Linked DNA regions of Homo sapiens: region 1 is linked to region 2. The links are contacts of gene promoters, found by promoter capture Hi-C in human tissues and cell types (Jung and others, 2019). All regions are on one chromosome and are shown on one strand. Each heading gives the region's core, a stretch centred on a gene start or on the middle of the fragment in contact. The rest is flanking DNA. Distances are from core to core; before and after follow the strand shown. Region 1 has its middle 30 kb from the start of LINC01964. Region 2 holds the start of TCF7L1 (transcription factor 7 like 1).

Region 1 (3,447 bases), core at 842-3,341, 37 kb after region 2:
CTGACCCCTTTCTAGTTCTTTAATGTAGAAGATTTAATTATTTATTTGAGACCTTTCTTCTTCTTTTATGTAGATATTTACAGCTATAAATTTCCCTGTAAGCACTGCTATTGCTGCATCCCATAACTTTTGGTATGTGTGTCTTCATTTTCATTTGCCTCAAAGTATTTTCTGATTTTTAAAAATTTCTTTTTTTTTTGAGACGGAGTCTCGTTCTGTTACCCAGGCTGGAGTGCTGTGGCGCGATCTTGGCTCACTGCAACCTCTGCCTCCTGGGTGCAAGTGATTCTCCTGCCTCAGTCTCCTGAGTAGCTGGGATTACAGGTGCACATCACCATGCCGGCCTAATTTTTTTTATTTTTAGTAGAGACAGAGTTTCACTATGTTGGCCAGAGTGGTCTCGAACTCCTGACCTCATGATCCACCTGCCTTGGCCTCCCAAAGTGCTGGGATTACAGGTGTGAGCCACTGCGCCCAGCCTTAAAAATTTCTTTCTTAGCCAGGCGCAGTGGCTCATGCCTGTAATCCCAGCACTTTGGGAGGCCGAGGCAGGTGGATCACCTGAGGTCAAAAGTTTGAGACCAGCCTGACCAATATGGTGAAAACCCATCTCTACTGAAAATACAAAAATTAGCCAGGCGTGGTAGTGGGCACCTGTAGTCCCAGCTACTTCGGAGGCTGAGACAGGAGAATTGCTTGAACCTGAGAGGCGGAGGTTGCAGTGAGCCAAGATCACGCCATTGCACTCCAGCCTGGATGACAGAGCGAGACTCTGTCTCAAAAAAAAAAAAAAAAAAAAATTCTTTCTTGACTAAATCGTTATTTGGAAGTGTGTTGTTTAATTTCCACCTATATGAGCTTCAAGTCAGTAATTAAAAAAAAATTCCACCTATTTGTGGATATACCGAATTTCTCTCCATTGATTTCTATTTCCATTTAATTGTAATTGGAGAACATAATTTGTATTATTTCTGTCCTTTTAAATTTATTGAGGTTTGTTTTATGACCTGTCATATGATCTATCTTTAGAGTGTTCCATGTGCACTTAAAAATTTTGATTCCACTTTTGCTGGGTGAAGTGTTCTGTAGATGTCTGTTAAGTCTAGTTTGTTTCTAGCGCTGTTCAAGTCTTCTATTTCCTTGTCGACCTTCTGTCTAGTTGTTCTACCCATTATTGAAAATGAAGCATATAAGTCTTCAACTATTATTGTCAAATTGTCTATTTCTCTCTTCAATTCTTTCATTTTTTGGCTTCACATATTTTGCATTTCTGTTGTTAGCTGCATATATGTGTGTAATTGCTACATTTTCTTGATGGATTTTGCGGCACCTCTTTACAGAGGAAAAGTGATCTTGAATTTTATTGCAATTTACAAATATTACAAATGTTAAGGTATTATATTTATTGGTGACATCTCTTGACTCAGTCTGGATAAAGATGTTGTTAATTTTACTGTATTACATAAAACCTCTTTGGCATTAGGTAACAATGTCATTAACAGGGGGCCTTGTTGCACTTGGGGGAGCAAAATCCTCCCATTTCTCATGCTGCATATTGTTCTAGAGTCTGCTCAACTCTAAGTTTCCATCTGGCATTGTTAGTGTCTCATTAACTGTATGACTTTTCCTATCCTAGGCAATAATTCTGCTACTAAATAATTTTTTTCCTGAGCCTTTTTTCTGCTTGTGACTTTTAAAAACTTTAGTCTGTTTGAAGATTCCAGTAACTACTTACAATAATCAGCCCGTTTACTTGTCAAATGACTATGATTTGTAGTCGAGTGTCTTTTCACTTTTGTGGGAGCCGTTGCTGAATGTGTAAGTTGCTCACCACAGATGACACACAAATGAACAGAAAACTCAAAGCCCATGTAAAGCCCATTTACAAATATCTTTAATTATGTAGATGAACTTTTTTGTGTCCATTGTCCTCTAGTGCATTGAAATGACTCAGAAAACTGAAATTTCTCATCGCTAATTTGAGAAGTGTCGTAGCCAGGTGCAGGGATGAGTGCCTGTAATCTCAGCTACTTGGGAAGCCGAGACACCTTAAGCTTGGGAGTTCCAGACCACAGACCAGCCTGGGGGCAACATAGCAAGACCTTGTCTCTTAAAAAAAAAAAAAAAATGCCAGTGTAGTGGCTCATGCTTATAATCTCAGCACTTTGGGAGGCTGAGGTGGGTGGGTCACCTGAGGTCAGGAGATCGAGACCAGCCTGGCCAACGTGGTAGAACCCCGTCTCTACTAAAAATACAAAAATTAGCCAGGAGTGGTGGCAGACGCCTATAATCCTGGCTACTTGGGAGGCTGAGGCAGGACAATCACTTGAACCTGGGGTGTGGAGGTTGCAGTGAACCGAGATCATGCCACTGCACTCCAGCCTGGGTGATGGATTGAGACTCCATCACAAAAAAGAAAGGAAAAAAAAAAAAAAAGAAGAAAAAGGAAAAAAGGGAAGTTTCTGTAAACCTAGGCTTTGAATCCCCCTTTTCTTTTTTATACTACATCTATCTTCAAAAATCAGCATATTGGACTATCAAACATGTTGGTAAGACACAAACGCTAGTTCTAAGAGGATATAACTGGAAGAGTATGGTAAATATCTACCTGAGAAAATTGAAAAAATGATGAATGTGTCACAGTATGCATCACTTCTAATATATGCAATTCACATTTTGCAATGTTTACAGTAACTGCAAAATGACAAGGATGGATGTCCTTGTCATTGTAGCACTAAAAATTCCATCTTTAGCATGAAACTTTACCTCTTATTTTCTACTAAACTGATAAGGCGTGTTTGCCTTGTGAGTAAAATGGCAGTGTGTAAGGAAGCTGGGAAAGGAAATTTGAGTAAGAGAGTGTGGTGTTCTAAAATATGTCCACAAAAAAGGTGGAGCTGGCTCATGCCTGTAATCCCAGCACTTTGGGAGGCCGAGGCGGGTGGATCACCTGAGGCCAGGAGTTCGAGACCAGCCTGGCCAACATGGTGAAACCCCGTCTCTACTAAAAATGCAAAAAAATTAGCCAGGCGTGGTGGCACACACCTGTAATCCCAACTACTAGGGAGGCTGAGGCAGGAGAATCACTTGAACTTGGGAGGTGGAAGTTGCAATAAGCTGAGATCAGGACACTGCACTCCAGCCTAGGTGACAGAACCAGACTCCATCTCAAAAAAAAAAAAAAAAAAAAAAAAGTGGAGCCCATTTCCACTCCCTCATCCCCTCAAGCATGAGCTATCCCTAGTGATTTGCTTAGTGAATGGCATGTGGCAGAAGTGACAGTGTGTGATATTCAAGATCAGGACATACAGAGCATGTGCAGCTGTGCAAGGGGCTCACACCTGTAATCCTAGCACTTGGGGAGGCCAAGGCGGGAGGGTCGCTTTTGGACAGGAGTTTGAGACTAGCCTGGGAAATATAGCAAGACCCTGTCTGTACAAAAAACTT
Region 2 (3,188 bases), core at 305-2,804:
CGAGGGCTGGGGGTGGGAACGGGGGCTGTGAATAACCCGCCACGAAAACTGGGTTTCTTAGGAACCAGCCTGCAGCCGCCCAGTGAACCCGGAGTCGGAGGACAACGTCGCCAACCCAGCTCCCTAGGCCCCTTGCCCCACTGCCAGAGAAAGCTGACCGATTTCCAAGAAGGAAAGCGAGACCCCCCCAAAGCGGGCACAAATCCAAGTTTCCTTCGGTGCAGGCGAAGAATTCTGGAGGCCAAGGAAGATCCCAGAGGTGGACTCCAAAACCTCAACCCGCAAGAGGGGAAAAGTTAAAGTAACTTTACTTTCATCCAGGCACTGGCCAGCGCAGCCTCGCGCTCGGCCGCCAGAGAGTAGTTCAACTCCGCAAACAAGTTCTGCTTGGGATCGGCGCAGAAGGCCCCATCCCCCACTCCATGGCCAAGCCCGGGGGCGCATCCTGCGGGCCGCGGCCTCCCACCCTCCCCGGCGCGCCCGACGGGCACTCACGGTGCGCGCTCCTCCGGGAGACAGGGGTCCGTTGGAGAGGTACGGGCTGCTCAGGTCCGGGATCATCAGGAAGGGGTACCCAGGGTACGGGGGTCCTTTAAAGAACGCGCTGTCCTGAGGCCTTCTCACTGCGAACAAGACCAAGGCGAGGTGAGGCCCAGGCCCCCGGGACTGACAGCGCCGCGGCAGGGGGCTCGAGGCGGGAGCTGGGGACCCCAGCGCCCCCCACGCGCGCCCCACGGGGGCTGCCGCCAATAAAGGCGGAGGGCAAGGGTGCGTCCACCCAAGCAAGGGGGACGGTGGGCCGCCCGGGCTGAGCAGCGGAGCGCAGCGGGAATCGAGAGTGGGGGGCTGTCCCAGCGGGCACATACCTTCGGCGAAATAGTCCCGCGGCTTCTGGAAAGTGTCCCGGACGGGCTGCGGGCGCCTCTCCGCCTGCGGAGGAGACACAAAGGCAAGAGCGGGTGAGCGGACGCAGGGCCGGGATCCCCCGGGGGTGGCCGCGGTGCTTCCTTACCTCCGAGTCCGAGCTGCTGCTCTGGTTCTCCGACTCGTTGACCAGGGACGACTTGACCTCGTCTAGGTCCCGCTGCGCCGAGGCGCTATCGCTGCTCGGCTCCTGCTCCTCGCCCCCCTCGTCCTGGAAGGGGATCAGCTCGTCGTTCGCCCCGAGGTCGTCCCCTCCGCCGGCCGCCCCGGCGCTGGAGCCGCCGCCTCCCCCGCTGCCGCCGCCGCCGCCGCCGCCCCCGCCGCCGAGCTGGGGCATGGTGGGGCCGCGGGCCGGGGCCGCCGCTCTCGGAGCCCCTAGCCGCCCGCGCCCTGCCCGGCCCGGCCCGGCGCCCCTCCCGCCCGCTTGCGGGCCCGCTGCGCTAGCCGCCGCAACAAAGTTTGACAGGGCGTGGCCCCGCGGGAAGCGGGCCCGGCGCTGCCCGGCCGGGGCGCAGGCGGCTCGGCTCGGGCCCCTCCGGCAGCGCCGAGCCTAGGGCTCCCCAACTCGCCACCGCCGCCGCCTGCTCCGCCGGGGCGTCCCAGCCCCTGGCCCGCCGGGGAGGGGCGAGCGGGGAGGGAGGGAGGAGGGACCGCCGGGCTGGGCAGGGGGGCCGGAGGGAGGAGCCCCGGCTGCAAGCTGACACCCGCGCGCCTCGCGGAACCCGGAGAGCTGCGGTGCGCGCGCACACACACACATACACACGCACTCACACTCACACGTTCACACTCGCATCTTCCAGGGGCTGCGTCTCCCTGCAACGTGCACCGCCCCCAACCCCCTCCTGCGCCTCACACTGCACCCTCGGCGGCCCTCCCCACGGCCTCCCTGGAGTCCTGGAAGTCTTGCGCCCACCCCTCCGCATCCCCTAACTTTCTCCCAAAGAACCTCCAGAACTCCGCGCAGGTTCCCACCCCCTCCCACCGTATCGGCGCGCGGGCGGGCGGCACTGCCCCCTGCGGGAAAGCCTCGGACGCACATACTGGCCGCGGGGCCCTCCCCCTGCCTAGAGTCCCTCCGAGTGCGCGAGCTGATGCACGGACTAGGACACTGGGGACATCTATGGAACCCCGGAAAATGCCCGGCGGCTTTCCGCGCCTTTTTCCTGTGGGGTTCCAACGCGACCCCCGGCCCAGGTTTTCAACCTTGTACAGATATACAGATTTCCCTGCTGAAATCTTGAAGATCACCTTTTCTTCATTGTTTGGGACTAGGTCCTAAATCGAAAAATCGCGGTCTTGGGTTCCAAAAGAATTTGGATTTGGTTCATTGAGAGGGAAAATTGCCTGTCCAGTGATCTCCGAAGCCATTCACAAAGCTGCGTGAGTAGCCAGTGAACACGAGAAAAATGCTCAACCAGCCTCATACCTAAGTAATGCCTGTGGTGCGAGCGCCACGGCCCGCGCCTGGAGTTCCATCTACTCCCGAGGCCTAGGCAGGAGGATCGCTGGAGCCCAGGAGTTTGAGACCAGCCTGGGCAACATAGCAAGACCTTGTCTCCAAAAAAAAAATTTTTTTAATAAAGAAATGCCTGTTACAATGACATTAAGATGTCGTTTCTCTCCAACCTGTGCGGGAAAGTTTGAGGAAAATGAATATCTTGTGTTATCCTCCGTGGGGAACTATTAGAGCATAAACTTTGAAAACAGCTTGGAAGGCAGTATGGAACTATGTAAAACTATTTTCAGCCCAACTGGCAGAAGAGTTTCTACAGAGGTGCCCGCACATATGGGCAAAGCCACATATGCTAGGTTCAAAGCATCAGAGAGCTTGGTGACATGCATTCTTCATCTTTCTTTACAGTGACAGTCCATGCAGCTGGCCAGTTCTATGCAGTGTCCCCGCCCCTCCCCCCACCCATACACACACACACACACACACACACACACACACACACACACACACACACAGGCACATGGACCAAGATTGATTTTGGAGGAACATCTTTAAATGAAACACTATATATGACACTCACTATTTTATTTTTGTTTTTAAAAAAATTATACACATTTATTTCTGCGTAGAAAAAAATCTGAGAAGATGCAAATTATTATCAATGACTATTTCTGGGAAAGGATAAGTGAAAGGAGATAGTTTTCTGGTTTCTATGAACTTTATAACAAGCAGATATGCCTTTTCTAATTTTTTACACAATACATGAGTACAGTCTCATAAAGCGTTTTCAAATAACAGATGTATCTTGAGC

The links. Contacts are between HindIII fragments. The study calls those that stand out against the background at their distance.
Region 1: a fragment that was not itself captured here is called in contact with the fragment with the promoter of TCF7L1 in region 2 in 2 of the 25 tissues and cell types used here (spleen and stomach).

Annotation. Positions count from the first base shown.
Region 1 is chr2:85,095,428-85,098,874 of GRCh38, reverse strand. No RefSeq gene overlaps it. Among named protein-coding and RNA genes, the nearest start is that of LINC01964, 30 kb to the right of the region's middle. The HindIII fragment of the contact is 8,686 bases long and covers 1-3,447 here.
Region 2 is chr2:85,131,758-85,134,945 of GRCh38, reverse strand. It overlaps TCF7L1 (transcription factor 7 like 1), which reads right to left and starts at 1,554. Exons shown (of 12, transcript NM_031283.3): 1 at 1,013-1,554; 2 at 867-930; 3 at 496-623. The coding sequence starts at 1,261. RefSeq lists enhancers at 1-369, 945-1,519 and a silencer at 1,885-1,954. The HindIII fragment of the contact is 29,167 bases long and covers 1-3,188 here.